Linked DNA regions of Homo sapiens: all the other regions are linked to region 1. The links are contacts of gene promoters, found by promoter capture Hi-C in blood cells and fetal thymus (Javierre and others, 2016). All regions are on one chromosome and are shown on one strand. The core of a region is centred on a gene start or on the middle of the fragment in contact, and the rest is flanking DNA. Distances in the headings are between cores, read along the strand shown. Region 1 holds the start of ARHGAP20 (Rho GTPase activating protein 20). Region 2 has its middle 26 kb from the start of POU2AF2. Region 3 has its middle 43 kb from the start of POU2AF2. Region 4 has its middle 73 kb from the start of POU2AF2. Region 5 has its middle 53 kb from the start of LINC02550. Region 6 has its middle 30 kb from the start of LINC02550. Region 7 overlaps LOC102723966 (a long non-coding RNA gene).

Region 1 (4,124 bases), core at 560-3,059:
ATTAATTCCCTTAGCAAACGAACATTTATTGCACCAGACACTGCTTCAAGCACTTGGTATACGACAAAGAACAACAATAACAACAACAACAACAAAAGCCCACAAAAGATTCCTGCCCTCTGGAAGCTTGCATTTCTCTGAGATATAGATAATAAACACTAAACATACTAAGTAAATTACATGATATATTAGAAGGAGATAAGTGTTATCGAAATAAAACAGAGTAAGGAAAATTGGGAGCGTGCATTTATGATAGGAACCAAAAGAGGCTAACGAGTTGTAAGTGGATGATTTCAGCAAGGAATGAAAGGAACTGCAAAGCCCTCTGCGTGTAGAATTCATGACAAACTCTATGGTGGGGGCAAAGTCCTGTCGCTGCACATGGGTCTCAGCTGCAAAAAGAGAGTAGCCATGAAAAACTGTGTGTGTATATGCACACATACATAAACACAATAATAGATGATTTACAAATCATACATGTGATTTATACGTGTGTGTGATTTATACGTGTGTGTGATTTATAAAGCCTATGTAAGCCTACTTTAAACAGTGTGAGGTGGACAAGGCTTAAAACGGGCTGGAACATTTTCCCCCTATTATTTCCACAATAAACCATTCCTGGGCATGGTGGTGATGTGTGCGCGCGCGAGTGTGTGTTGGACAGCATCCCTTCCTTGGAACAGAGCCGGCCAGAGCCCTATTCTTCTACAACCTGTCCTAATAACAGCCTAACCTGGCAGGAACCTCGATTTTTTTCTTCTTACCACAAAAGCAAACCAAACCCCTTCCACAACCTAATATCATAGCGTGGTGTCCTTCCTCACTAATCCGCCACTGCTTCTCTAGTCCTGACTCCAAGGGAAGAATGCCATCTACCGAATCATCCGTACCAGTCAACCAGCCCCGCAAAGTGCAGCAACACTCAGCTCAACGCGGGTCAGCTCCAAATCCTCTCCCTCTGATTATTCTTTGGCCTTTAAAATATTTTTGCCTCTATTTGGGCTGACAGGAAGTTATGCTCTCGGCGCAGATATCTGATAAACACTTCCACATATTGTAGCCTTCTCAATAGCTTAGCCAAATTTCGGCGTCCTCGCTCTGTCTGCATTTTCCTTCATTGCTCTTTCACGTTTGGAATGCCCCCGTCTCTGCAGCCTGCAGACAGCGGAAACCGCGGGTGCAAATGTGCAGGGGCCGCTGACATGACCGGCTGCAGAAGCCCACTCAGGGTTACCCGAACAGGCTAGCGTTCGGGATTGCACAAGAGGTCAGGCGATGCTGTGGGCTTCCAAATTTGTACAGCTGCGACACTCTGCGACGTGCCACCCTATCCCCAGTGGGGTGGGGTGGGGGATTCCCTCCGCAGTCCGCTGAAAGCGAGGCAGGAATCACTGCAACTCCTCTGCTCAGGCTGAGGTCGCCACCGCTCCGCGGATGCACGCGCTGCAGGGGCGCCTTCCGCCGCGGGCACGGCGCGGGAAGGGATGGGGTCTGGTGGGAGTGGGCAGGTGGCGGGAGAGGCGCGTGTCCGTGCACTAGAGGCCCCCGTGCGTGACACAGGCCGATGAGCTCCTGCGGGCTGCACCCACGCGGAGTCACAGACCGAAAAGGTCAGCCGGTGGCCGGTGTGCTAACATATATAGAGAGACGCCCGCCAGGCGCGCCGCAGGCTGGGACGAGGCTAGGAGGGCCCAGGCTGGAGGAGGGCTGAGGAGGGCTGCGGGGGCGGGCCCCGGCGCAGGGCGCCCGGAGCGGAGGGGGCGGGCCCGAGGCGGGGCGGGCCGCGGCGCTGACGGGCTGTCGCCGCTGCACTCGCCTCCAGCCCGCGGTGTCGAGCGCAGGCGGAGGTACATGGCCCCGACGGGAGGCGCGCGGCGAGCACCCGGAGCTCGGCTCCCTGCCTGAGCACGGCAGCCGCGCCTCCGCCCGCGCGTCCTCGCCCCTCCGGCCGGCAGCCCGCGGACATGATCGTGTAGCCTCCTCCTGGGCTGGGATTTGTTTGAAGATTTTCTTCATGGAAGCGATGTCCCCCCAGCAGGAGACTCTAGGGGGACAGCCGGGGCGCTCCTCTTCCCTGACAGGAGTGTCTCGGCTCGCGGGAGGCAGCTGCACCAAGAAGGTGAGGACGCTGAGCGGGGGCCCGTGCCCTCCGCCGCCGCAGCCCCCACTGCCGGCGCGCGCCCTCCGCGCCCGCCACAGCAGCGCGCTAGGCGGACGCCGCGGGAATTTGACGCTCGAGGCTCGCGGCCCCTAATGAGAGTCCCAGAACACTTCCCGCCCTTGACGGCCAGCGGCAGCGCCGCCGCCTCCCGCAGAGCGCCCGCTTCTCCGTTTCTAGAGCCTTAGTCTCTCCTCGAGCGACCTCGCAGCCTCCCTCCCGTCTCCATCCGCCGCCGGTTCTGCAGCCCGGCTCCTCCCTCAGTCTAGGCGCGCGGGCTGTAGTGGGCGATCGCCTTTCCCCGACCCCTCGCCGTGCCCCTGGGCCTCCCGAAGTGGCCTGGGCGAGCACTGACTGCCCTTTGGCGGTGTCAGCCCCAAAGTCAGGGCCGGCGATGTCTGCCCGGGAGCGGCAGCCGGCGCTGAAGAAGGTAGGCAGCGGGGCTGCGGCGCTGGTGGGCTCGGCCCCCTCACCTGCCCGCCGAGGCGCGGCTGCTCCATAGCAGTTTTCGGGGGGCAGATATGGGGAGTACTGCCCCCCACACCAGGGTCCTGGATGATTCCGGGTCTCCCAGGTGGGGGTCACAGTTTGAGGGGCGACTGTGGATGATAACGCTCGACACTACGGGGACATGTAGGTTCGGCTGGGCCTAGAACCGAGCAGGGTGGGGGCGGGTGGGCTGTGGTTGGGGGTCCTGAGGGCTGAGGTGGGGGACCTTCTCCCTGCACTGGTCCCTGGCCCCTGGGACTCTGGCCGGGCTGGATAGGGATCCGGGTGTCGGTGTGGGCGTGGGGGCAGCGCGTGTTCCCTGTCAAAGCTGGGAGAGGGATGCAGGTGACAACTTGTAGCGTTCCATTCCGATAAACACGGCCGCTGTGCTGCGGGAGGATTCCGATCCGGGTCAGGTTTCGCTGGAACGGTTCCCTGAGCAAGTGCACGTGGGCCGCGGGCTGCCGGCCTCTGCCGTTTCGCTCCCTGAGGAATTGATTTGGGTGTTTCTAGCCCTGTCTGCCTGTCCCCCGCCTCCCCACCCCCGCTTCCAGCATAAGACTTTCCGATATTTTGCCTTTTTTTTTTTTTTTGCCTTGTCTTAGTGGTGCCCTTCCAGCTTTTCTGGAAACAAGTTGCGATTAGAGGCATCTTCTAGCTTTTCCTTAAGAAATATCTTAAGGGATTGCATTTGTTTCATTAGAGACTTAAAGGGGTTACGCAGGTTCCCTGCTTGTCTTGATTTTACTGCCTTTCATAAATCTTCCCACCAGGATCTTAGGTTGGCTAGAGGTCAGTTGAAGAGAGGTGATCGGTGTGCCGAGTATAGAAATGTGTGGGAGTTCCCAAGGACCTTGACCGTGTCACGGAGCCATCTAGGGGTGTCCGTGAACTTGATGATGTATGGGCTGTAGTGCCAGCTCAGCCTTTGATGTATTGAGGCTGCGGTTTGTCCTTGTCGCTTTTCCCCTTCGGAGATGGAGGGAGTGTGTGTGTGTGTAGTCAAGTCTTCCCAAATAAAACGTGAATTTATCAGGCTAGCCCTACATTTACTGACATAAATTTTAAAACTTAAAGCATTTTATTTTTGTAAACGTAAGGAATTGGAAGAAAATCAAAGATTTATTTTTCTGAACAGTTTTTTCTTTTTTTCTTTTTTTTTTACTAAGGGTATAACACTGCCAAAGGGAGGAAGCATTAAAGAGGAGCTTTATTATCATTTATCAAGTAATACTTGTCCAATAAATGAAGGGTTGCTTCGCTCTTTTCCCACATTCTTTTTACTTATCATAGCCACCGTCCTTAAGATGCTGTCGTTTGTTATGAAACTTAACAGGTTCACACATTAACAAACCAGTACCTACCTTTCCAACATCGTTGGGAAGATTAAATGTGAAATTCAGTGAATAATGACATATAATAGACATTTAATAAATGTTAGCACTTACTGTTTGCAACATCCCTATATCTGTAATTC
Region 2 (4,124 bases), core at 627-3,126, 510 kb before region 1:
TCCAAGTTTAGCATATCTTTCTCTCTCTGCTTTCATGGGTGCCCTGGGGGCTGTCTTCCCCTCCACAAACTGTACGGAAGCAGAAACATACTTAAGAGCCCCTGGCCTAACAGGAGAAAAGAAAACTGATGCATGCCTATATTTAGCTAGAGTTTTCCATCCCCAAAGGCAGGTAAGCCTGGAGCTAGTGAATAGGGAAGAAAAAGAGGAGGTAGAGAAACAATGCAGATGGGAGTGTTCGCAATGAGGAGGGAAAAAATCTAGGCTTGGTGAGGACTGGGGATGGAGCAAGTGGTTGGTCCTTAGTACCCACCAATCCATCCATTGTCCATGCACAGCCTGTTGTACTACAGTGCTGGATCCCTGTAAGGCCCTACATAGAAGATGAGAAACTTGACACACTTGTGTAAAGGAGGAGCTATGAAAGCAAAACTGCATCGCTGGCCAAGGAAGAACGATTCAGAAGCGTTCAGAAACAAAAGATTTTTCTTTAAACCAGGGAAGCCATGGGTATACTCCCATTGTTACATATTTAGTGAACACAGCTGATTTTCTAGCTTGTGAGTGAAAATGATGCATTTCACCTGAATTTTAAGCTCTGTCGCTGCCAATTTTAGAGGAGCTAATCTTCCAGTTGATAATATTATTTTTACAGATTCAGTTAAATTATAAGGTAAAAAACAATATTTGACCTGGATGATGTATTATGATGTATATTTGGGTGTTCAGTTTGCTCTGGATGCAAGATTTGGCATTCCATTGATTTAATATTCAGGGTTGGCTAGTCTGAATCTGTGGCTGATGATAAACCAAGCCAGCTTTGCAGGTGGTTACTAGTGACTTAGCTGGAAACCCAGCAGTCCAAGTTCTGGCTCCAAAGTATGTGTTTCTAACCTCAGATTCATGCTTGATTGCTTTTGTAGAATTAAGTATACAGAGATACATCATCAAATCAACTACCAGGATTTCTTGAGTAAATTTTAGGATAGAATTATGTTTCTATACCTGTGTGTTTGTGTGTGTATGTGTGTATGCACTGCAAAAATGTAGAAGATGTGACTATAACACTAGAGGAGGTTATAATCTAGTTAGGGAGGTAACATAAAAAGTTATAGGTTTATCTTTAGCATTGTCTAATGACTAAGCTATCTCACAAGTATTTCTTGGTCCCTGAATATGTGCTTATATACATACATAACAGGACATTAACTCAGGAAAGAACGAGATCATGTCTTTTGTGGGAAAATGATTGGAGCTGGAGGCCATCATCCTTAGCAAACTAATGCAGGAAGAGAAAACCAAATGCTGCATGCTCTCACTTATAAGTGGGAGCTAAATGAGAACTTATGAATACAAAGAAGGGAACAACTTGAGGGGTCTACTTGAGAGTGGAGGGTGGAAGGAGGGAGAGGAGAAGAAAAGATAACTATTGGGTACTGGGTTTAATACTCGGGTGATGAAATAATGTGTACAACAAACCTCATGACATGAGTTTACCTATGTAACAAACCTTCACCTGTACTCCTGAGCCTAAAGTAACAGTTAAAAAGCAATAACAATAAAAAAAGCCCAGGGCATTAAAGTTCAAGTTTCAACTAAGGTAATAGATATGGTTTGCCAAAATGAGATGTGGGAAAAATAATACATGATTTTCTAAAGCAATGGTTATGAAGAGTTCCATGGCTGGGTGTGGCAGCTCATGCCTGTAATCCCAGCACTTTGGGAGACAAAGGTGAGAACCTGGGAGTTCAAGACCAGCCTGGGCAACATGGCAAAACCCAGCCTCTAGAAAAAATACAAAAATTTGCCGAGTGTTGTGGCATGCATCTGTAGTCCCAACTACTTGAGAGGCTGAGGTGGGAAGTTTGCTTGAACCTGGGAGGCAGAGGTTGCAGTGAGCCAAAATAGCGCCACTGCACTCCAGCCCGGATGACAGAACATGACCCTGTCTCAAAAAAAAAAAAAAAAAAAGAATGGTTCCACGATTCTTGGATCACCTAAATCAGATCAAGTGCAAAGTATGAGGATTAGATTTTGTGCACAGGATTTCACTAGAGAAAGCTGAGCTTTGACCCTAGAGTAAGAGAGAGAAAAAGAGAGAGAGAGAGTGTGTGTGTGTTAATGCACCTGCTTCCTCCCTGCCAGCCTAATTGGAGGGGAGGGGAGGGGGAGGAGAGGGGCTTCAGGTGATTAAAAGTGCACACTGTGTGTTCCTTGCAGGTAGAGAACACCTCAGATATCTAAGGCTGCTATGGCAGCAAAGAGAGAGTAGAGAGTCTAGTATTGTGTGTTTCTCTGGACTTTCAGCTGTTGGTGCTGATGGGGTAGAGTTGTTTATGTCCTGCCTTAGAGAACAGCCTGGCAGGACATAAACTGCCAAGAGCCAGAGCTGAGGGGATATGGAGAAAAATACCTACTTTTTGGGACCTTGGTTGGAGCCCCACAAGCAGCCTCCAAAGAGCCCATGGAAACACCTTCAGCTTTAAGCATGTTGGACCCAGAGAGCCTGATGCCAACTTACAGTCGTTTCCAGTTACCAGCCAAGCAGGAACTTCCAGTACTTTCGGCTCCCTTTCTACTTCGGCCTTCCTGGCCCAAAGCTGGTAGTGGGTGGGGAGGATACCAGCAGAGAAAGAGAGAAAGCGCTCACTAGATCCCTTTCCCTGATGTCATTACAGCCTTTAGTAAACATGGGGAAAGAAGCAAGTTCCGGCTGGGCGTGGTGGCTCACGCCTGTAATCCCAGCACTTTGGGAGGCCGAGGCGGGTGGATCACGCGGTCAGCAGATCGAGACCATCCTGGCTAACACGGTGAAACCCTGTCTCTACTAAAAATACAAAAAAATTAGCCAGGCGTGGTGGCGAGCGCCTGTAGTCCCAGCTACTCGGGAGGCTGAGGCAGGAGAATGGTGTGAACCCGGGAGGCGGAGCTTGCAGTGAGCCGAGATGGCGCCACTGCACTCCAGCTGGGCGACAGAGCCAGACTCGTCTCAAAAAAAAAAAAAAAAAAAAAAAAAGAAGCAAGTTCCTTTTTGAGGCAGTGGAGTATAGTGGGTGGGAACACAGATTCAGCAATCAGACTGGTTCATATCCCAGCTCTGGCAGCTGTGAGGAGGTAATTATTTTCTCCATGATTTGGTTTCCTCCCCTATAAAGTGGGAGTAGTAATAGTATGCACATCATTAGGTTTGTAGTTTTCTAGGTAAAATTTATTTTTTATAAGTTTTAGATTTACAGAAAAATTATGAAGATGGTACAGAGAATTCCCACATATCCCACACCAGTTTCCTTAACACTTGACTATACTTTGGTACATTTGCTACAGTTAATGAGCCCATAATGATAGATTATTATTAACTAAAATTTACACTTAATTCAGATTTCATTTGTATATACCAAAGGTTCATTTCTGGTTCTAGGATCTTACACAAGATACCATATTACCTTTAGCTGCCATGCCCCCTTAGGCTCTTCTTAGCTGTGATAGTTTTTTAGACTTTCCTTGTTTTTGATGACCTTAACGGTCTTGAGAAATACTGGTTGGGTATCTTGTAGAATGTCTGTCGATGGGGACTTTTCTGATGTTTTTCTCAGGATGAGACTGGGGTCATAGTTTTTTTGGGAGAAAGACCACAGAGGTAAAGTACCATTATCGTCACATCATATCAAGGGTATTTAAAATCAAGGGCGATTTATCTTTGTTAATATTAATCTTGATCACTTAGCTAAGGTATTATTCAGATTTCTCCACTGTGAAGCTAGTGTATCCTCCCTTTCCATACTGTACTCTTTGGAAGGAAGTCACTATGTCCACCCTTGAGGGTGGAGTATCTACATAAATTATTTGGAGTCCTACCTAGAGATTTGCCTCTTCTCTGCCATTTACTTATTTATTCAATCATTTATATCAGTATGAATTAATGGATATTTATTTAATACTTTGGATTATAATCCAATACTACTTTATTTTCTTACTCAGATTGTTCCAGCTTTGACCACTGGCAGTTCTTTCAGTGACTCCCACTTACTTGTTTGTTCTTGGTACCTCTGTTGAAAATGAGTTCACTGTAGGTGTGTGGATTTTTTTCTGGGTTCTCTATTCTGTTCCATTGGTCTACGTGTCTG
Region 3 (4,124 bases), core at 934-3,433, 490 kb before region 1:
CTCCTCAAGACCTGCCTCACCTTATGAGAACTTGCCTGCTGCCATTTCTCTCTGCCAGATCCGTGTCCCTCAATGGCCTACCTCAGTTTCCCAGTCCCTTCATCATGCGTCATCCAGGCATGTCACTCCTAATCTCTACTTCAACATGTGCCTCGTAGGAGTGTGGAACTTGAATAAAGGAGTACCCAACCCAGTCCCTGCCCTCTAAGACCTTAGAGTTTTGCTGAAGATTTAAGGTGTTTGAGATTTTATCATGAAGAAATGTGTCTGATTTAGAAAAATGTCAGCAATGATAACATTATTAAAATACATATATATGAACATAATACATATATAAATATATACATATTTTTTCTTCCAAGTGACTACATTTGGTTAGATCCATAAGCTCTAAATAATGCTTTAAAAATCAGTTGTGTTTTTCTTAGTCAGTTTGGGCTGCTGTAACAAATTACCATAGACCAAGTGGTTTAAACAGTTATGTTTTCACAGTTCTGGAGCCTGGGAAACCTAAGATCAAGGTGTCAGCATGATTGGGTTTTGGTGAGAGCCTGATTCCTGGTTTACAGATGACCATCTTCTGTTTGTGTCCTCACATGGGCAGAAAGAAGAGCAGAGAGAGAAAGCTTTGGTATATTTCCTTATAAGGCCACTAATTTCATTCATGAGGGATCCAACCTCATGATCTAATCACCTCCCAAAGTCCCCACCTACTAATACCATCACATTAGGAATTAGGATCTCAATGTATGAATTTTGGGAAGGAGGAGCAAACATTCAATTCATAACAATATTGTGACTAGGAATGCAATGTATTATAAAACCTAAGCAAATTACTAAATTTCTATATGTTTAACATACAAAACAGTGGATGGTATGAGGCAAGACATAATCAGGTAGCATAAAGAATACCATAGGGTTATGGTAAAGGTGACATTTGTGTGGGCTCCAGTATTGGGGAAAGACTCCACAGATGTTTTGAGACCTAAGTTTGGCCTTGAGTGAGGGGTAAGATTTGGAGTGTAGGAAAGAGAGTGGCAGGACTGTATTGAAGCTGAAAGTGTACACTGATGACCTGGTTTGTTCTGCCTTGCTCCATTTTGGTGAGAGAGAGAGGGATTCTTTTGCATTTTAATTTCTAACAAGGACCTTCAGGCCTGGTTTGGGTGTGGGAAGACTGGTGTTTACTTCCCCTGGCAAGTAAGCAGAACTGGGGAGCTCTGGGTTTTCTGCAGCAGAGGATCAGGTGAGAGGAAAGATGTCTTATGGAGAGGAGACACTGAGCACTAACAGACTGGCTGGTTATGGGGCATGGAAATCATTGGTTGGAGTGAGTTAGCTTCCTGTCAGCTCTTAAGAAATGATGACAGGCATTGTTTTACAGGCAGAGCCATGATTAGAAGAAGGTAAGGGAAATTCATTCCAAAAATGAAGAGGAAAAAAAATCCAGATCAAGAAGCATATTCCTTGTCTTAGGGCTAGGGTTGAGGAGCTGGTGGTTGTCAGTTTCTGTAATCTAGGGATTTGTGTTTTAGTATTCATATGGGGTTAGACAATGAGTGTTTGGCCTAAATGAGGGGGGAGGATGAGTTAGACCTGAGACACTTGAATAAAAGCAAGACCTTTGAAGGGCCATACTGTCAATAAAAGGACGAATTAGGAAAATAGTCCATAGGTACAGAGAGGCAACAAGAGAGACTAGACTGCCTGTCATGAGTGGAAAAATTTCCTGAGAATTTTTAATGACAAGCCTGTGCTTCCTGTTGACTTGGGGTTTGAATTTGTGCCATCAGCTAAGAAATTAACATAAAAATTTGTCCTGAGCCAGTAATACCATGGCAATGGGAGGGTACCATGGAGGGGCAAGTGCTTAAAGTAGTTTGCACCGAATTCTCATAAATAAGACCATACTGAAGATGAACTCACAATCCAAATATAGGTAAAAGCATGTCAAATTCACAATTTCTTTTGTCTTAGAATTTTGACAGGTCCCCCAAGGCTGAGAACATCCTGTGTTATAGCGCCTATGAAGAACAGGTAAAACTTGTAAAGCTGAGGTTTGAAGTGCCCTCCGAGTATGCAAAGGGAGGTTTCAATGTTGATAAGTAGGAATTCTAGAGTGAGAGAGTTGTAGATGAGCTAAGTGTTTCCTCCCCTTCAGTCAACCAAATGGGGCTGGGGGTAGGGTTCAAATATATAACCACTCGGAACGTTTTCTCATATCATCTGTAATTTGGGAGATGTAGGAATGTCCTAATTTATGCCTGGTATCTGATTTATGCTTGGAAACATAGAATGTCAAGAGGCTGGTCAGATGCTCTGAGGCAGAGGGAAAATAGTAGTTACAATGGGAGAAGCTACATTTACACAGAATGGGGGTAAAGGTGAATGTTCTTGTGGGCCAGATGTTGATCATGGGGTGGGGAGAATCTGAGAAAGGGTTTTGCCTCGAAGAATGGAGTCATTCCAGCAGGAAAATTTTGAATATAGAATCCAGACACCAAGGGTCTGTGGTTCTCTCGAGTGGCCCCTAGAGAAGGGTTGCTCAGAGCAGCAAAATACAGATGTAAGTTGTCAGAAGTGGAAACTCTGAGAAACCCAGAGGGCATTTCAGGAGAGAAAGAAAAGGCACATTCCACCATCTGCCACAGCTGGAAGGCACCGATGCCGTATCACCGTTGCGCCAGTCAAGTAGCCCTCCTTACCAAACCTTTGGACCCTAGGTTCACAGAACTGGGTGACTTATAATCTTTGGCCCATGACAGAGACATCATTAGTCTGTGCGTGGACTAATTGTGTATTTATTTTTAATGATGTAATAGGAATCATGAAACCACGACTTTAAGCAAAAGCTAGGACCCTGGTAGCACTCTAAGTCTAAAGGAGTCTAAGTCTCAGTCATCCTCTGGCTCCCTCAACTCAAAGCAGTTAACATTCTGAATCCTATGTTCAGCATTCCCTTCCTTTCTTTTTCTCTAGGAAAAGTTTATTGAGTTATAAGAAATGTACACGGAAGTGCACAAATCTTAAGTATATAGCTCAATAAAATTGAAGTTGTTCTCTAAAAACTCTAATAAACTAGATAAAATTCTGGCAAGGTTTATTCTGATGGCAAAGACAGAGCAAATAATAATAGGAATAAAAAGGGAACAAAGCTATAGATGCAGTGGGTATTTTCAAAAAGAACATCCATGAACAACTTTGTGACAACAAGTTTAAAATATGAAATAGACTATTATCTAGAAAAATAAAATTTAAAAAACGGACTTAGGAAGAAACAGAAAATCTGAATAGATCTAAAACTACCAGAAAAATTGAGGCTGGTCACAGTGGCTCATGTCTGTAATCCCAGCACTTTGGGAGGCTGAGATGGGAGGAACACTTGAGGTCAGGAATTCGAGGCCAACCTGGCCAACATGGCGAAACCTTGTCTCTACTAAAAATAGAAAAATTAACTGGTAAGGTGGCATGTGCCTGTAATCCCAGCTACTTGGGAGGCTGAGGCAGGAGAATCATTTGAACCCGGGAGACAGAGTTTGCAGTGAGCTGAGATCGCGCCACTGCACTCCAGCCTGGGCAACAGAGCGAGGCTCTGTCTCAAACAAAATACAAAAAAAAAAAAAACCAAAAAACCAAAAAAACAAAAACAAACACCACCAAAAAAACCTAAAAAAATTGAATCAGGAGGTAAGAATTTAATATCAGCTCCTCCAGACAAATAAACACAAACCAGAAGCTTATGATGTAGTCTGAATTTTTGTATCCCTCCAAAATTCATATGCTGAAACCTAATTTCAAAGGTGATGTTGTTAAGAGGTGGGGCCTTTGGAGGTGATTAGGTCATGAAGGCTCCACTCTCATGAATGGGATTAGTGCCCTTATAAAAGGCATTGAGGGAGCCTATTTGCCTCTCCAACCCTTCCTCCATGTGAAGATACATCATCTTTGAAGCAGAGAGTGAGCCCTCACACTGAACCTGCCAGTGCCTTGATCTTGGACCTTCCAACCTCTAGAACTATCAGAAACCAATTTCTGTTGTTTATTAATTACACAGTTTAAGCCGTTTTGTTACAGCAGCCTAAATGGACTAAGACAACCCACCAGACTCAGGGGATTTTACAGGT
Region 4 (4,124 bases), core at 453-2,952, 460 kb before region 1:
TTTCCTGGGCAAAGCCAAGAGCCCTTGTGGGTTAAGCTCCAGTTTAGTTGTGTAATTACTTTAAATTTTTTAAGATACCAATATTATATGACTTCCGATCTTTTTAAAATTTTCTTCAAACCGAATCTTGCTCTGTCATGTAGTCTGGAGTGCAGTGATGTGATTTCGACTCACTGCAACCTCCGTCTCCCAGGTTCAAGCAATTCTCATGTTTCAGCCTCCCGAGTAGCTGGGGTTACAGGCATGTGCCACCATGCCCAGCTAATTTTTGTCTTTTTAGTAGAGACGGGATTTCACCATGTTGGCCAGGCTGGTCTCAAACTCCTGACATTAGGTGATCACCCACCTTGACCCCCCAAAGTACTGGGATTACAGGGCGTAAGCCACCACGCCTCGCTTGATCTTTTGTTGGAAATGAATAGTGTATAAATTATCTCAGGGAAATTTAAATAATAAGCATACATTCTAATGCAGTCCTCAGTGTAGCTTTGTGCCCACTGTCTGTTTTCTAGAGCCCTCTTCAATACAGTGTAACCTACTCAACAATGTGTTAATAACATCTACTAAAAACACACTGGATTCCTGGGATGTCTTAACCATCTAATATCTACTGTTGAAAATTGTAAGTCTTCCTTTTGGTTCTGTTAGTGCTCCATAGAATTCGTTATGACACGGATCATAAAATAAATCTTCACAGTTCATTAGTAGAGTCTAAAGCAATTCTGAACACATTTTACTTGCTTCACACCTGTTTGCTTAAATGTAAATATAGAAAATACCTTGTATTCCTGCTCTAGAATTTGTAGTGGGAATTCATATTAAACAGTTCATAGAGTTGTGGAATCTGGATTTTTAAAAAAGAATTAAAAACTAATGAATTTGTATTTAGAGTTTAGAAAGTACAGAACTTATTTCAAACTAATATAGTTAGTTGTCTCTGTTTTTAAATGAAATTCCTCTCTGAGGCTGCTTTATTAATGAAACCGATTGCACTCCCTCACTACCAGGCTGGGGGTGGTGGGCTCCACGTGAGTGAGCATACTTGCTTCTTTAGGGAAGCACAGAATTGCTTGAGAAAACAAGTCAGCAGTGGTGAAGACTGGAGCTTGGAAACATGGGGTCTAGGTATTTCTCTTGTCCTCAGCTTGGTTATGTAGAGTAGCTGTTCTCAGTTTCTGTAGCTCAGAAACAGTGTTTCCCAGACTTCCCTGATGGAAAGAACAACCTGAGGGGCTGGCAGACAGACAGTTCCCCAGACCACTGTGCTGGAGATTCACATCCCAAGGGTATGGGTTGAGGCCTGCGGATTTGTATTACTGATGAGGACTCAAGTAATTATTTTCGTCAAGAGGTTTGGGAAGGTATTTCATTGAAACCCTTCCTCTTTCTTCCTTTTTAACCCCCATCCAATTCTTCCAAAATCACAAAATGACCACAAGAATATTACAATCAGTGATACTCTTACTTTCCGAGTGGTTTCCTGAGTTCCTGCCCCCACACCACCATTACTTTTACATGCCATCCTCAGCTTATTCTTCTGGAAACTCAGCTCTGAGCACTACTTTCCTCTTTAACAAACACCAAGACTGCTCTGTGGCCTGTTATATTGTGTCCAGATTCATCAGCCTGGAATTTAAGGCCCTCTGTAAATTGGCCCAACCTGCCTTTTCAAATTCTTTCTTACCAAGTTCCTTTATACAGTGTTGGATTCAGCCAGGTTGTGGCCATTTGATTCCCCCTGTATACATTCTTTAATATCCTGCCTCTTTGCCTTGGCTTATACTTTTCTTTCTGCCTTGAATAGTTTTCTTCTCATCCATCCATATCCGTGTCTCGAATCTGTCTTTCAGGGGCCAGTTCAAAGTTCCCTCCTCTCTGAGGTGTGACCTCATTTGACCAGTCAGAGAATAAGAATCTATTGATGCCTGTTTGTCAGGCATGATGCTGAATCCTTTATATGGATGATCTCATTTGAATCTCAGAATAATCCTTTGAGAGGACTTTCTTTCCTCCGGAACTCATCCCCACTGTACTTCTCCTTCTTCTTAGATTCTATATTTGCGAATTCACCTACTCGCTAAATTTGGTTATAAACTCCAGATCAATATTTGTGGCACGTTTGAGGTCATATGTGGACACGCATAGAGTGGTGAAAAATCTGAGTTGCCTAAATGCTCATGTTCCCAGCTGAGGTCAAACAGGGCCACACTCTGCCTTTTTGTTTCTGCTCTCATGTTAAATAAAAGACCTTTTGGAAGTCTATTCAGTGCCATGTTTTTTGCATTTTGATGCTTTTTGTTAGTAATTTTGCTACTTAAAATGGTCCCCCGTGCTGTCTAGTGTTCCTAAGTACAAGAAGGCTGTGATGTGCCTCGTGAGAAAATGCATATGTTAAATAGGCTTCCTTCAGGCATGAGTTATATGATGTTGGCCATGAATTCAATGTTGATGAATCAACAATACAGTACATCCAGAAAAAGAAAGGAGATATTCGCTAATCTGGGCCACTGTGGAGGTTGCTAAAGTAACATCTGTAGTGTGTGATGAGTCTATGGAAAAAGCAGAAAAGCAGTTAGACATGATAACTGATTAAAAAACACATAGCAGACAGCAGAGTTGTGAGACTGGAAGCCAAAGAAATTTATGGTCACATTTCCCTGGATCAGGAGAATGTGACACTATTTTTGGCTAGCATTGGCTTGGCTGGTTCACACATTCCAAAAGGTGATATGGTGTGAAAGTTATTAAACTTGCAGATGAGGCAGATTCTACAGATCAGAAGGCTACAGAAGAATTGAAACCCTATCTCTACTAAAAATACAAAAATTAGCAGGTGTTGTGGCACACGCCTGTAATCCCAGCTACTCGGGAGGCTGAAGCCGGAGAATTGCTTGAATCTGGGAGGCGGAGGTTGCAGTGAGCCAAGATTGTGCCACCGCACTCCAGCCTGGGTGACAGAGCGAGATTCTGTCTCAGAAAAAAAAAATTAAAAAATAGTTGCTAAATATCATTCAGGGAAAGAGTTATGTGGAAGAGCAGGTTTTCAATGCTGATGAGACTGGCTTGTTTTACAAGGAAGTTCTCAAACAAACCTATATAACGCAACTGGCAGAGGCTCCCAGGAACCTAATCTTGTATTTCTCCTAGGAGCAACTATTTAGTGCTTGCTAATTCAGTGTTCAGAGCAATTTTATGGGCCATAACTCTTGTTGCTAACAATGAGAATCGACTGTACTTTGTTTTAAACCTCCTTTATAAAATTTATTATTTTCTACCTTGTATTATAGATATTATAATATGTGTCACCTCCCTTACAATAGTACTAATTTATAATCTCTTTCTGGGGAAGATTCTGTACTCATTCATTCAGCAACAGTTTTTGAGTGTTCCTTATGAGACTACCTCTCTACCAGAGGCAGAAGACATGAAGGTGAATGAGACCAAGTCCCTGCCTTTGGGTAGCTTTTTGCCCCGTGGGAGGAGACAAAAAGTAACAGAAAGTTGTCACAATGATTCAGAGAGGCACAGGAGATTAGATGTGATTCTTCAATGGATTAAACATAATTTATAGCCTACACATTGAATGGATGGATCTGCCATTGAAATATCTTCTGAATGCTTCATCATGATCTGATCGTTTTTGCCGCTAAGTCACCCTTTTTCTATATCTATATTTAAATCTTTCTATCAGTTTATTTTTCTGAAGACCCATAATGATTAATGTGTGGTTTTGGTAAATATGGAACAGTTGGTTTACATATTTACTGCCATTAACATGAATTGATAAACTTCAACAGGAACATAACTCTTAGTAGTTCTGGTAAGAAGAGCATCAGACAGAAGCTCTGCCCTGTGAAGTTGCCAGCACGTGAGATGAGAAGGCAGCGCTGAGCCTGGCACAGCAGGTATGTCCGTGGCTATGCTGCAATAGAACTGGCTGTCCGTGCGTCTTTCATGGCAAACCTTGGATGCTGAGTGCACATGCCGGTGCTGACCGTACAAGGCAAGGAAGGCACCAGCAAGACTGCGCAAGCAGCTCCAGGGCTTCTCATTCCAGCAGACCCTGGCTTTACCGTACTAACCCTAACTAATCACTGTGCTTTGGGTAGAGACTTTATGATTAG
Region 5 (4,124 bases), core at 921-3,420, 440 kb before region 1:
TAATGCTAAATCTCACTTCTTTCTTGGGAGGATATTTCCACCATTTTGGGGTTGGGTCTCGGGAGAGAGAGAAAATATGTATTCCTGTGATCAGTATACCTTGTGGTGCATCTGTGGTCTCATGGCTACCTTGGCCGACCTTCATTGTGGGGTCTTTTGCATCTTCTGTTGACTGTAATTCATTCTCTTTCCCCATTTCTTAGTAGAATACCATCGTGTAGACATAATATAGGTACTCAGTATGTGTTTGATGAATGAATAAATGTCTGCTGGCTTGGTATAGTTTCATTTCCTCCACGGGAAGCAAACTGGTAAGTAATGGTGCCTGAACATAGATTTAGTATATATTATATGTTAGCATGCTGTTTCCAAAAACTGGTATTTTCAGTTTGGGTGGTTGAGATGAACAATGAAAGGATGTGCATTTGTTATGATGTTAAAGATCTGACGGTATGTGTGGGAGAAATTCATCTTCATGTATGATATGCTTGTTTTGCCTTCTGAATAGCATACCTTGCTAAGACTTCTGTTAGAAATCCAAGAATCTCCCTCAAATGTCTTGGGTTTGGGTTCCATGTCTAGAGATGCTGGGCTGCTTGTCTCCATGGCCACATCTAGTGGGCACTCACTAGCCCCCATATAGAAGATGGTTCCCACATGTGACCCTCGCTAACACACAAAATTATAAAATATATGCTTACTATAAAAAGAGAGAAGTATGAAGGGGACATGAAGTTTCCCTCACTCTTCTTTCTCTCTCAATTCAACTCCTTAGTGATAACCACTATTAATATTTTCTTTATAAGCAACTCTCAGATATTTTCTATTTGTGTACACACACACACACACACACACACCCACACACCCTTTTACATTTTTTTGACATAAAAGGGATACGTTTGTCTAACCTGCAACCTCTTATTACTTTTTGAAATCCCATTTTCTTGAATTCTGTGACACAATACTCATTTTCCTTCTCCTTCTTGGACTTTTCTCTCTCTTTTCACAGATCCCTTCTCTTCTATGGGCCCGTTAAATATTTGGGTTGTCCAGAGTTCCATCCTTGACCCCATTTGCTTTTCACTGTACTTGCTCTGGTTGGGTAATCTCATCAATTCTCATTGTTTTTTAATTACCACCAGTGTTCTGATGATACAAACAATATTCTCTGTCTCGACCACTTCTTTATGCTTCAGATGATTCATGCATGCAATTTCTTGCTGGACAGATACACTTTGATGACTTACTAGTACCTCAGCCTTAATATGTCAACTCAGACTTGGGCCTGCCAAGCTTGTATCTATCTTAGGAACTTTCACTTACTGCTACTTCTGTTTGGAAGAAGATGTTCTTCAGATGTTCTCATGGATGGTTCTGCATCATCACTGAGGTCTCAGCCCAAATAACACCTCCTCACAAAGGGATTTACACACAATCTAAAATATACCTCCTGTTCCCTACGCCTTTCCTTAATAATTCTCAGACACATTATTGGTGTTATTATTTTTTAACACCCTAACACATTATTGGTTATTAATTTTAATAATGCTTTGCTTTTTGTGGTATTGTTTGTGTAGTACGTATATCATTAAACTGCACTGTATTTTATGATGACAAGGACTTATCTCTGTTGTTTATTATTATATTTCCAATGCCTAGAACACTGCCTGCCTTATAGCAGGGGCTCAAGTAACGTCTGCTGAACGAAAGTTGGGAGGATTATATCAAGGGCATGAGACACACCCAGATAGTCATGTCAGCCTTGAGAATATAAATGAAAACATCTAATTTACATGGGTAGCATAAAACTAGTCAACTTTGGCAAGAAGTCAATAAAAGATTGATTCAAGTCAATGGAATCAAAGGAAAACTGATTGAGAGGTGTTCAGAGGGTCAGATTCAGAGTTTTCTCTCCTTTACTCCCTTCTCTAGGCAGGAGCAGTTACCCACATTTCCTTTTGAACTGCCTGTTTACGGTGCAATTCTACACATGGGCAAGAAGTCTATTAAAGAACATATGTCAGCCAGGGTACTTGGTCACAAATATCCAGAATGCACTCTAGTTAGTTTAGCAGAAAAGGCAATGAGATAACTTATAGAATCTGGAAGGGCTGTAGAGTAAGGCTTGGCAGCCATGTAGCCAGGAACATCACCCAAATCATTCCACCTGCTGTTCCTGTAGAGCCCTTACCTCGGTGCTCACCTGGCACAGGTGCTTCCAATTCCTCATGAATTCTGGGCTAAGAATGCTTCCAGTAGGGTCTCTGCTCCTCTCCAGATGCTACTTCCTCTGAAATATGGATCTCTCTCGATCTTCACCTGACTAGATCCTGAATGGTGACTTCTCCCTTTATGACACTCTCTTCTGAATTGGGATCTTGCTCAGAAGCATCTTATCAATTAAGTTCAGGTCACATGCTTGCTTTCTAGTTGCAAGGGAAGCAAGACAAGTAAGTTCCTGGCTTCTTTCTTGGGAGGCAGCTCTCACAAGCAAGGAGATTCTGTGGCCATAGGAAGGATATTCAAAAGGTCCTGAATGGCCACAAAGAATAAGAGTTGTCCACTACACAGCCCCTCTCGGGGGATGTATTGAGTTCAGTGCAATGCTCTCTTCTTATTTCTGGGACTTTTGCCTGTCACCTAAACACTTAGCTTATATTCCAACCGTTATTATTTACAAATCTGTTTTTTACTTGCTATTGGCCAAAATATTCTGACTGCTGTTAAGTATAGCCATTAGCTTCACAAATATCTCCTCAGGCATGCCTCACGTGAATCTTAAAATCTTTTTGTTAGGCAGTCAACATTTATTGATCCAGGCAATGTGCTCTACATACATTATCTAGGTGCAATACATTCATTATGCCATTGAATCCAAACAACCAAATTATCCACATTTTGTAAGTTAGGAAACTGAGGACCAAGGAGGTTAATTAAGTAAATGATCCAAGATTCTAAATAAACAGTCTGCTACCAATGCTCTTTTCCATTTCTCCTTGTGCCATAAGTTTCTCTGACAAGGGTTGTTTGAGGATAATGAAAGCTTATTAAATATTATGAACACAGTGCTGATAGAATTGAATGATACCACTCCTTTCTCTAGGCCTTTTAGGGAGGAAGTGTTAGAAAAGTCAAATCTGGTTTTCTGACATCTTATCAGGATGATGTGACTCATCATTCCCCAGGCCTTTCACAACCCTCAAAATCACATTTTGTTCATCATTCATCACTTTCCTCTATAACCTCCAAAAACTGTTTCTTCCTGTAAGTGTTTGCAATCTGTGTTTGGCTTCCAAATTAAGAGGCAGGCTGCACATTTCCTATGGACTCAATTAGAGCCTGCAGTGTGATGCCCTTGCTTACTTGTTTTTATTTCCAGATTTCTGTAAGCTCCTGAGTAATTCTGGTCTAGGGCTTAGGGTAGAGATGCATTATCATCCTGACAATGTCGTCTGGTGAGATACATTTTTAGGAGGTAGTAAGTACCAACACTTACGAAGCCACAAGGAATAATGAACTGCCTTAGGAGGTAGCTGATAAGCACAGTTCTTTGAGGATAGGAACTGGGTCACATTTATCTGTTTATCACTAGTGTCTGGCACAGTTCCTGGTCCATAATTATTAAAAAGTGTTGGTTTCATAAAGAAATTAGATAACATTGTTTGGTACTTCCAAAAGCAGTTGTTAAACTCTAGTACCCAAATGAGAGTAACATCTGTTTCTAGAAAGCCAAATCCATTCCTTAGTACCCACTTCCACTTATTTAAGATAGAGCTAAGATAATAAAATTGGTATTAATAAGGCCTTTTTCCTTATTGCTATTCCACTTTCTTACATTTTTCAAAGATGTGAGCTATTATTTTTCTGAGTGCTTCTATGTTTTCATTTGATACAAGGAATTACAGAAATGTGAAACTGAAAATTCATGTGAATTATGGAAACCTAAGCCCAGACAGAACTAGAGACCTAGAATATGCAGCTATATAAGACAGTTAAATAAACAAGTCTGCTTAGACTGGTGGGACTCTTACAAAATACACGGTGAACAGACATGCCTTTCTGCCTGGGCTCGCCCAGGAGTTTGCAAATGAACAGAGCTTCTGCAGGGCAGGACCAATGGCTCA
Region 6 (4,124 bases), core at 1,021-3,520, 410 kb before region 1:
AGCAATTCTGCTTCTAGAAATTTATCCTATGAGTTAATGCACAAAGATATATGTATAAAAATGGTCACAAAGTGCTGTTTGTTCATAGCAAAAAAACTAGAAGCAACTTACAATGCCATATGTGAAAGCCATTAGAGAGAAAAAAGCACATCTCTCTATACTGACATGGAATCATGTCTACAACTTTCTGTTAACTAAATATGGCAAGTTGCAGAAAATGTATAGTATAGCTAGTTATATAAAAGGAAAAGAACACGTGTGCATAGAAAAATGTGTGAAAGGATAATATCAATCTCTTGATAATAGCAATCTTTGTAGCCATTTGAATTGGGTATGAGGAGGTGGGGGAAGGAAGGGAGTTGAGGAGTGGCTTTAAAAAGTTTATTTTATATATGTTTTATTATTTGTTACATGAACATGTACTTTTATAATGCTATAAAAACAAATTTTATGAATGTTGCCCACAAGTTTTATTTTCCATTCAGGAAACTTCTGTGGAGGGGCAATAACTGGATCATCAAACACCTGTCTAGTCACCACCTGTGACAGTGTTGGGCTGCCACACCCATGGTGTGCTGTCTCGACCATCCATTTCATTGATGCTGGATGGATTTAAATCATTTCTGTGCTATCTGTTCTATGGGCATCTGTGATACATAAACAAACAGGCATGGAGACTATTTGGCTACGAAAAGAGGAGCTGCTAGGAAGTGAGGTCCAGTTTCAACATTTTCATCTGTAGCCAATTCAAAAGATGTTGGAGGCCTGGCAGACATGTCTGCTGAAATGATGTAATTAATTATAGGCTGCATAAAAATATGCTTTGTTTGATTGATTTATCCATTCATTCAGTTATTCAATAGCCATTTTACTGAGCTTCTACTATGTGCCAGGCACTGGGCATGATTTAAGTATTAAATGCGTTTGTGGACTTGTGCTTAAAGCCCACAACAAAGTATTAAAATATTTCAGTGCTGAGGACCTTACTGTTGTTGAGAAATGAAGCACTGATTTTCATACCTATAAAATAACTCCACCATCTGTTGTGATGAGAGAAAACTCTTCAGTGCTTGCTTAAAAATGTTAATGAAGAAGCTTCCCTGAAGATTATATGTAAAATCTCCTAGTTCAAATTTAGGCTGTCATGTTGTAAAACAAGTAGGAACTAGATGAGTCAATGTAGGAAAAAAATTCTTCTGGCCAAAGTCTGCAGAGAGAAACAGGGAAACATTTTCAGATCTGAAGGAGAATGTTAAAGAAGAGCAATTAGATAATCTTATTGTCAGGAGATAATCCATAGAATATATAAAGATCCCTTGAAGGGAAGACAGGAAACAAGATGGGGAGGACAACATAAGGAGTCACCTTTGAGCAATTCAGAAACACTAAATAGGTCAACATAGGAACCTCATATGTGGGCCAGTGTGGAGTAGCATTTGGTACTTCCTAGGAAGCACAGTGCTTCTCCCAGGTCATCTTTCTTTCTTATGTCTGCATAGGATTCATTCTATCTCCCATCTTCCTGAGACCAGATCTCAGGAATTATGTTTTTATAACCTGGTTAGAACAGTGGCTGCTGCTGTAACTACAAACATTATGAGTTCTTCTTCACCCCATTTCCCCTTTCTCTTTTGTGTTCAGGAGCAGAGAGACCAAATACTATTTGTCTTATAGGCACTTATCCATTCATTACCTACAAATATTTATAAAGAAGAACCATATGCCAAGCCCTGTGCTAGTTGGTGAAGCACATGGAAAGGTACCCTTCTGGCCAGGAAGGCCCTCACAGCCTCGAAGGGGAGACAGGCATTTAAGAAATAAATGACAGAATTACTCTTGATTGTCCTTTCTCCTTCATTCCCAGTATCCAGTTCTGTTGTCTCTACCTCCAGAATATGTCTCCAATCAGACTGCGTCCCTGCAGTTCTACTGCCTACACCTGAGTCCAAGGCACTCTTCTCTCTCACCTGGAAGAAAGGGTCCTCTAGCTTTTGTTCTTGTTCTCTGTAATCCCTTTTCCTCACAGCAACCAGGAAGATTGTGAAAAGGATGGAAGTCAGATCAGGTCACTACCCTGCTCAAAAAACTTCCAATTGCTTCCTACTGGATATAAAATGAAATTCAGACTCTTTGCATGGCCTCTATCTCTTCTACTGCATCTGATACCATTGCACTTGCTTCTCTCTATGTTCCCATCACACCAGTCTTCTTTCTGTAGCTCATTCCTCCCTCAAGGCCTTTGCCTCTGCACCACCTCTGTCTGAACAACCTTCTTCACATCTCTGCATGACTCACTGGACCTCAGCACAAATGTTCCTACCTTAGAGAGGCTTTTCCTAACCACCTTCCTTAAAGTATGCGTCTTCCAATCTCTACGTATCACATTACCCTTTCTATTTTTCATGGTATCCATTGTTGTCTGAAAAAAAATGTGTTTATCTCCTCGCTACTTACTGTTTGTAAGTGTTACTACTTTACTGTTGTAAATCTCAATCCCCATTGAGATTGTAAGCTGGGGGAAGCGGGGACTAAACCATCTTGCTCCCTCTCTATTGCCTGGGTATAGGTCAGTATCAACATGTGTTTGTGGAATAAATGAATGAGTATAAGTAATGGAAGTAAAATGAGTATTTGCACAGTCCTCTGTACTGTCCATATTATTTGCAGATTAATCCTAATGCTAACAGAGATAGAATCATGCTGCCATTTGTGGAGTTGTAGGAGTGAGAAGGAGTATTAGAAGTTTGTAATCCTCTGCTCTTCCACAGTATTGGAAATCGGTGGCTTTATTCACTTTTTATGAGCCCTTTGAGGATGTAAATAAAGCCCCTGGACTCTCTAGGAAAATGTATATTTGTACATGCACCAAAATATCCACATAATTTCTTTGGGTTTATGTAGGGTGAGCAACCGTCCCAGTGTGCTCCAGACTGAGGGGTTTCCTGGGATGCAGGACTTTCAGTTCTAATACCAGGACAGGAAAACTGAAACAGTTGGTCACCCTAGGATTATATCCCCCACCAGAAGTCCTTTCATGAATCCCCTAAGTGCCCAAGAAGAACCCTTCCTGTGGATGTTAACATATCAGAAAATGTTAAGTAATTACTGAGCCACTACTAAGAGAAGATAGAGAAGTGAAGCTGATGAAGACAGTGTTGAATGTGGATGTCATTAATGTGTAGGGCAAGTTTGTGTAATGGGATCCCATGCATAAGAGGAGTTTAGAGAAAGCAGATGCTATGAACAGTAATAGCACCACTTTAGGTGATATGATGGGCAGGTGCTTATCACTACTCATGATTGAGTTAGCATAACTTTCCCCCACTCCCTTCCACTCACCAAAACTAACCCATAGTGTGAGTTTTAATGCTATGACTGCCCAGTGCCAGTTGGAGGCAAGGATAATCTCATAATGTGGGAAATCAACATGATAAAGAAAGCTTAAGACTATCTCTTCTAGAAGACCTTCTCTAATACTTGGCAAATTGTGGGAACCAATAAGTATCAGATATAGGTAACCAGGGGTCATGAGTGTTTTGTATAACTGAGTCGTTTAATCAATACAACCCCTAAAGGAAGCTAATTAAATAATCCCTTGCTCTTGGGACGAGGTTATGTATTCACTTGGTATGAGTTTCGGCAAGCTACAGCTATGGGGTCTTCATAAATTTGTGGACTATCTCTTTAAGAAATAACACTGTCATTAAGTTTGAAAATAACTTTTAAGAAGCTTATAGTCATGTTTTGTTTCGGGTGTGTCCTGGGAAGTTGTCCAGGGAGCTCTAACATATACCTTCCAGAGTAAATATCTCTAAGCCATTCTTTCTGTACAAAACTGCAAGGCTGAAACTATGTGCATGGAGTACAACCATTTCTACTGTCTTGCCCATTTGCCTGGAGAAGGGACAAGTGACTGCAGTAGACATTACTAATGTTTCCCAACATTCAGCTCACTTTTTTTCCTGTAGGCAACTAATCACTTGGCCTTACCTTCAGAAGGTGAGGCCATGTTACTAGTCCTGGCCAATGAATCTATATGAGCAGAAGGCATGCTCACCACTTCCAGGCTGAAACACAGAGGAGCAGGTGTGAAATCCTGATGTGCTGTATTCCTCTGCTATTGA
Region 7 (4,124 bases), core at 579-3,078, 400 kb before region 1:
GGTTTTTTTAAAAAAAATTAAAGTGGGCTTGTCAATATTAGCAGTCCAGTACTTTTAGTATAGTGGTCTTATATGAACTTATGTAGTATGCAGTGGCTGTTGAGATAAAACAATGTTGAACTTTCCCCAGATTTCATGAAAAAAATTAAGCTGATGGGTAGAATAATAGATTTTTCTCCCACATATGTATTTTAAAATTGTGTCTGATGCTACTTGTTTAATATCATATAAGCTAGTATCTATTTAATTTTTAAACACTTTATTATTGGTAGGCTTATTTTTTATATTTCCTGGTATTCTACAGAGTATCATAACTTTTAGCCTGTATATTACTTGAACAGATTTTAGAATTTAATTTGATAACCCTATCCTAACACTGTCTTTTGATCTATAAACCTAAATAACCAATTACTGGACTTGGTTACTCACATGTTCCTGAGGCCTCTCAAACATAATGGTTCTAAAATAGCAACCTTCCCTCCTAAGGCTACCTGTTCTCTTCTCTCTGCACTATTCGCTCAGTTTCCCAAACTTTAAACTTAGAGACATCCTTGATTCCTCAATATTTAATGGGTCATCAAGTTCTGTCAGATTTACCTATTCAATATCTCTGTAATTAATTTCTTTCCATTGTTGATTTTATCATTTTGGCTCCAGTTTCTTTCTTGAGAATGAGATACTAAAGCAACTTTCCAGCCTCTCCCTGGAGTCCTGTCTCCTTTCATCTCTTCTCTGTACTGCGACCCGGAATGAGTTTTCAAAAACACCAATGTGATCATTATCCCTTCCTTCTGGAAAAGAAGTCACTGGCCTCAGAATAAAACCCAAGCTCCTTTGCATGGTTTATGTCACCATCCATGCGTGGTGAACACCATTTGCACTCTCTGAAATTAATGCCACAGCCAGCGGAACCATGTGCAACTCCCTGGATGCAATAAGCTCCCTTCTGTTTCTATTCTGGAGTGCATTCAATCATCTATCAAAATGCTACTGAGTGCTGCCTATGTACTAGGCACTGTATGCTATTAAGATGTTCACAGCCTCATGGGGAAACCAGATACATAATACATAACTGGAATATCTTTTGGTTATGTGCAAAGAAAGACCTATGTACAAGGTTATAGAAATATGAAGTATGGGTGCCTAATCCAGCCTGAGAAGATCAGGGATGGCTTTCTGGTAAAAGAGGCAACAATTCTGAGTCTTAAATGATGAGAAGAATTTAGTTCTACCCCTAAGAACTTAATACAACCATTGAGGATAGTTGCATAGCACTTTACATGTATGTTCATGATAAGAAATCTAAAAGTTAGTAGGTACTACTACACTGTATGTCAGGCAGTGGATTAAATGTTTTACTTGTATCCTTAGTATTGCATTATAATGTCCATTCAAATAGTTCACTGTGTTGTGTTCACATAAATCTAGAATAATGAAATAATAAATTTATGTTAAAAAGCAAAGTACACTTATGATAGAGCTAGTCCTTTCAGAAAAGTGGTGTTTTCACAGATCTAATGAGGAGACTACACTAGAAGGTCCTGAAAGTAGGAAAGATTGTTCCTATGAAGCTGGAAATCAAGCTTCATATTAATTTGGAAACATATTTGTTCTGTGAAAAATATTGAGCAAGTCATTTTTGAAAGTAAAATTTTTTTTGTAAGAAGCTGGTAGTATAGTTCCAGTTCTTTCATCATCTCCATCATATCAATAAGGGTTTGTAGTGCTACACTGAGACCAACTCTGGTTGATATGAGCAAAGAACTGAATTCAAGAGTTAGGCTGATAAAGAGGAAGTGGAGAGGAAAATGGTGATGGGATGGTAAAAAGGAGAAGCCAGAGAAAACACAGTGAGCTGGGGTGACCAGAGTTCATTCACAGTGCTTCTCTTACCACACAATTTCAATTTCTGTTGTATACTCTCTAATGGTGGGACAGTATTGTTGCATTAGGAGGTGAGAACTGCAGAGGTAACTTCCTTATAACAATGCTTTCTGAAGCCATTGTTCCCATTAATCTTCTTAGTAAAAATAGCTCATGTTGGTTAAGTTGTTTCAACTTCACTAAAGCTTGAAGAAGATGCAAATAAATTTATAAAAACAAGGGTGAATGGAGAAAAATACTGTGGTCATAGCACTGAGAAGCAACCAACTGAAGAAGAAGTGGAGACTTTCCAGCGAAGTTTATAAAGACCATTAAGTTTGGATTTGCCATAGGCAGTCCTACAACAAAGGAAGCCTTAGTCATATCCATCACATTAGGACCAAGGAAGTCTAGAGACTGTTCTATCATTCCAGAACTGTGTTCAGAAGCAGCAGCTTTTAATGAACCAGAGGAAATGTCTTTAGAAGCAAAGCTGAAGATGATGAACGTTGGATGGGACAAACCAACAGCCGCAAGACCAAACCCTTTCAATAAAGAACACAAGGGGTTTTTGATCATCAGAAACTACGGGAGGGAAATATAAATTCTCACCTTGGAAATGTTTATGACCAAGATAATTAAATGATGTGTTCTGAGAATGGGATATGGCAGCTGCTTTCTTTCCTAAAAAGAATTTATTTTTATTTTTGATTGAAAGGGACACTAATAAATTCATGAGTTTGGAACTAGAGGTAATTCATGTTTTATGTAAAAATTTTAGACACTTGATATTTTTGCAGTTTCATGTGATCAGTTTCCAAATCTAACAGATAATAAATCAGAAATTGTGGTGGGGAAAGGATGCTGTGAAGCGGATGGAATCAGTAGTAATGATGGAGAACTAGCTTGAAGCTGTGCAGACAGGAGAAATGCCCTGGCTAGTCACATCATCCATCTATTCTTGTAGGGACAACATCGTTGCTTCCACAGAGCATGAATGCTGCAGCTGGCCCTGTCTATACTGCTGGACACTGGGTGCTGGGTACTAGCACTGGCATGGTTGCCACTGAAACTTTACAGACTTGGTCATCCTTACTATTGTTGCCACCAGCAACAGTTGTTTGTGGTATTTTGTTTTGTTTAGTTTTCCATCCTTATTGCTCAATTCAAAGACTGGGGTGTGTGTCTCTATTTGGTAGAGCCTAGGACATGTGCCTTTGCCTTACTTGCAAGCCAGCCTGGGTAAAGTATAATAGTGTCAGGGAATTTTAGCTTCTACAACAAGAAATAGGTTCTGTCTTATGCCTTGGGAATTCCCTAAGTAAAGGAAGGGATTCTGATGCTGGCCAAATGGAAAGACCATGTCTGCTCTTCTCCCCAAAGCACCTAAGTTCCAAATGCCTGCTGTGTCTGATGACAATTGAGACTGTAAGCTAATGATTTAGATGAAGAATTATGGGGTGCATAATTGAATTCATAACTGAACCCTGAAAGCTACATATCCCAGGCCTCTTGCTGAGCATTCTACCTCCTAAGGTTAAAATTTACTGATTTGCTCTTTCCCCTCTTAATGTTCTTCCAATCCTCTATTTAATCACTGCAAAATCCAAATTATGTCATTGATTGCCTCAGTATGCTAGTAAAGTGAATTTGCTGTTCAAAATTAGGGTTAATAAAAAATGAATATAATTGTAAGAATGTTACTTGATGAAACTATATTTAGATGTAAAAGGCTGTAAGATGAGCAAAGTAAATTTTTAAGTATAAAGAGTTTGGCCTCTTTTACCAAGGACCTGCCAAGATGGGCAGCCTTCACACCAAAACAGTGAAGAAGGTAGCCTGGGTCATCATAGAAAAGTATTACATGCACCCCGGTAATGATTTCCACATGAACAAGCAAGTGGGTGAAGACTGTCATTATCCCCAGCAAGAAGCTCTGCAACAAGATAGCAGGCTGAGTCACGCATCTGAAGAAGCAGATTCACAGGGGCCCAGTAAGAGGTATTTCCATCAGGTTGCAGGAGAAGAAGAGAGAAAGGAGAGATAATTATGCTCCTGAGGTCTCAGGCTTGGATCAGGAGATCACTGAAGTAGATCTTGATACTGGAGAAATGCTGAAGGTTTGGACTTTGGGAAATTCATCCCAACTGTAGGCTGAGTGACCTGCAGATTGGACTATCCACCACATGGAGCTGTTTGAATCTTTCTGAAATGTTGTAACATTTTCAATAAACCTGGAGAAAAAAAGAAAAAGAAAAAGA

Evidence for each region. Contacts are between HindIII fragments. The CHiCAGO score rates a contact against its expected background, and 5 or more counts as called.
Region 2: a fragment that was not itself captured here is called in contact with the fragment with the promoter of ARHGAP20 in region 1 in 1 of 17 cell types (M2 macrophages); the score reaches 5.0 in M2 macrophages.
Region 3: a contact is called between a fragment that was not itself captured here and the fragment with the promoter of ARHGAP20 in region 1, in 1 of 17 cell types (M0 macrophages). The highest score is 5.8, in M0 macrophages.
Region 4: a contact is called between a fragment that was not itself captured here and the fragment with the promoter of ARHGAP20 in region 1, in 3 of 17 cell types (naive B cells, M0 macrophages and M1 macrophages). The highest score is 6.6, in naive B cells.
Region 5: a contact is called between a fragment that was not itself captured here and the fragment with the promoter of ARHGAP20 in region 1, in 3 of 17 cell types (M0 macrophages, M1 macrophages and total B cells). The highest score is 6.8, in M0 macrophages.
Region 6: a contact is called between a fragment that was not itself captured here and the fragment with the promoter of ARHGAP20 in region 1, in 1 of 17 cell types (M1 macrophages). The highest score is 6.5, in M1 macrophages.
Region 7: a contact is called between a fragment that was not itself captured here and the fragment with the promoter of ARHGAP20 in region 1, in 3 of 17 cell types (M1 macrophages, M0 macrophages and monocytes). The highest score is 6.2, in M1 macrophages.

The regions. Positions count from the first base shown.
Region 1 is chr11:110,710,122-110,714,245 of GRCh38, reverse strand. ARHGAP20 (Rho GTPase activating protein 20) reads left to right here and starts at 1,809. Exons shown (of 15, transcript NM_001384657.1): 1 at 1,809-2,119. The coding sequence starts at 2,015. RefSeq lists silencers at 1,698-1,857, 1,878-1,937 and enhancers at 1,461-1,962, 2,945-3,590. The HindIII fragment of the contact is 6,153 bases long and covers 129-4,124 here.
Region 2 is chr11:111,217,651-111,221,774 of GRCh38, reverse strand. No RefSeq gene overlaps it. Among named protein-coding and RNA genes, the nearest start is that of POU2AF2, 26 kb to the left of the region's middle. The HindIII fragment of the contact is 5,885 bases long and covers 1-4,124 here.
Region 3 is chr11:111,200,950-111,205,073 of GRCh38, reverse strand. No RefSeq gene overlaps it. Among named protein-coding and RNA genes, the nearest start is that of POU2AF2, 43 kb to the left of the region's middle. The HindIII fragment of the contact is 3,110 bases long and covers 629-3,738 here.
Region 4 is chr11:111,170,936-111,175,059 of GRCh38, reverse strand. No RefSeq gene overlaps it. Among named protein-coding and RNA genes, the nearest start is that of POU2AF2, 73 kb to the left of the region's middle. The HindIII fragment of the contact is 6,572 bases long and covers 1-4,124 here.
Region 5 is chr11:111,148,224-111,152,347 of GRCh38, reverse strand. No RefSeq gene overlaps it. Among named protein-coding and RNA genes, the nearest start is that of LINC02550, 53 kb to the right of the region's middle. The HindIII fragment of the contact is 1,750 bases long and covers 1,296-3,045 here.
Region 6 is chr11:111,125,269-111,129,392 of GRCh38, reverse strand. No RefSeq gene overlaps it. Among named protein-coding and RNA genes, the nearest start is that of LINC02550, 30 kb to the right of the region's middle. The HindIII fragment of the contact is 2,345 bases long and covers 1,098-3,442 here.
Region 7 is chr11:111,105,436-111,109,559 of GRCh38, reverse strand. It overlaps LOC102723966 (a long non-coding RNA gene), which reads right to left. Exons shown (of 3, transcript XR_428993.4): 3 at 3,564-4,097. It also overlaps the pseudogene RPS17P15. Among named protein-coding and RNA genes, the nearest start is that of LINC02550, 10 kb to the right of the region's middle. The HindIII fragment of the contact is 486 bases long and covers 1,586-2,071 here.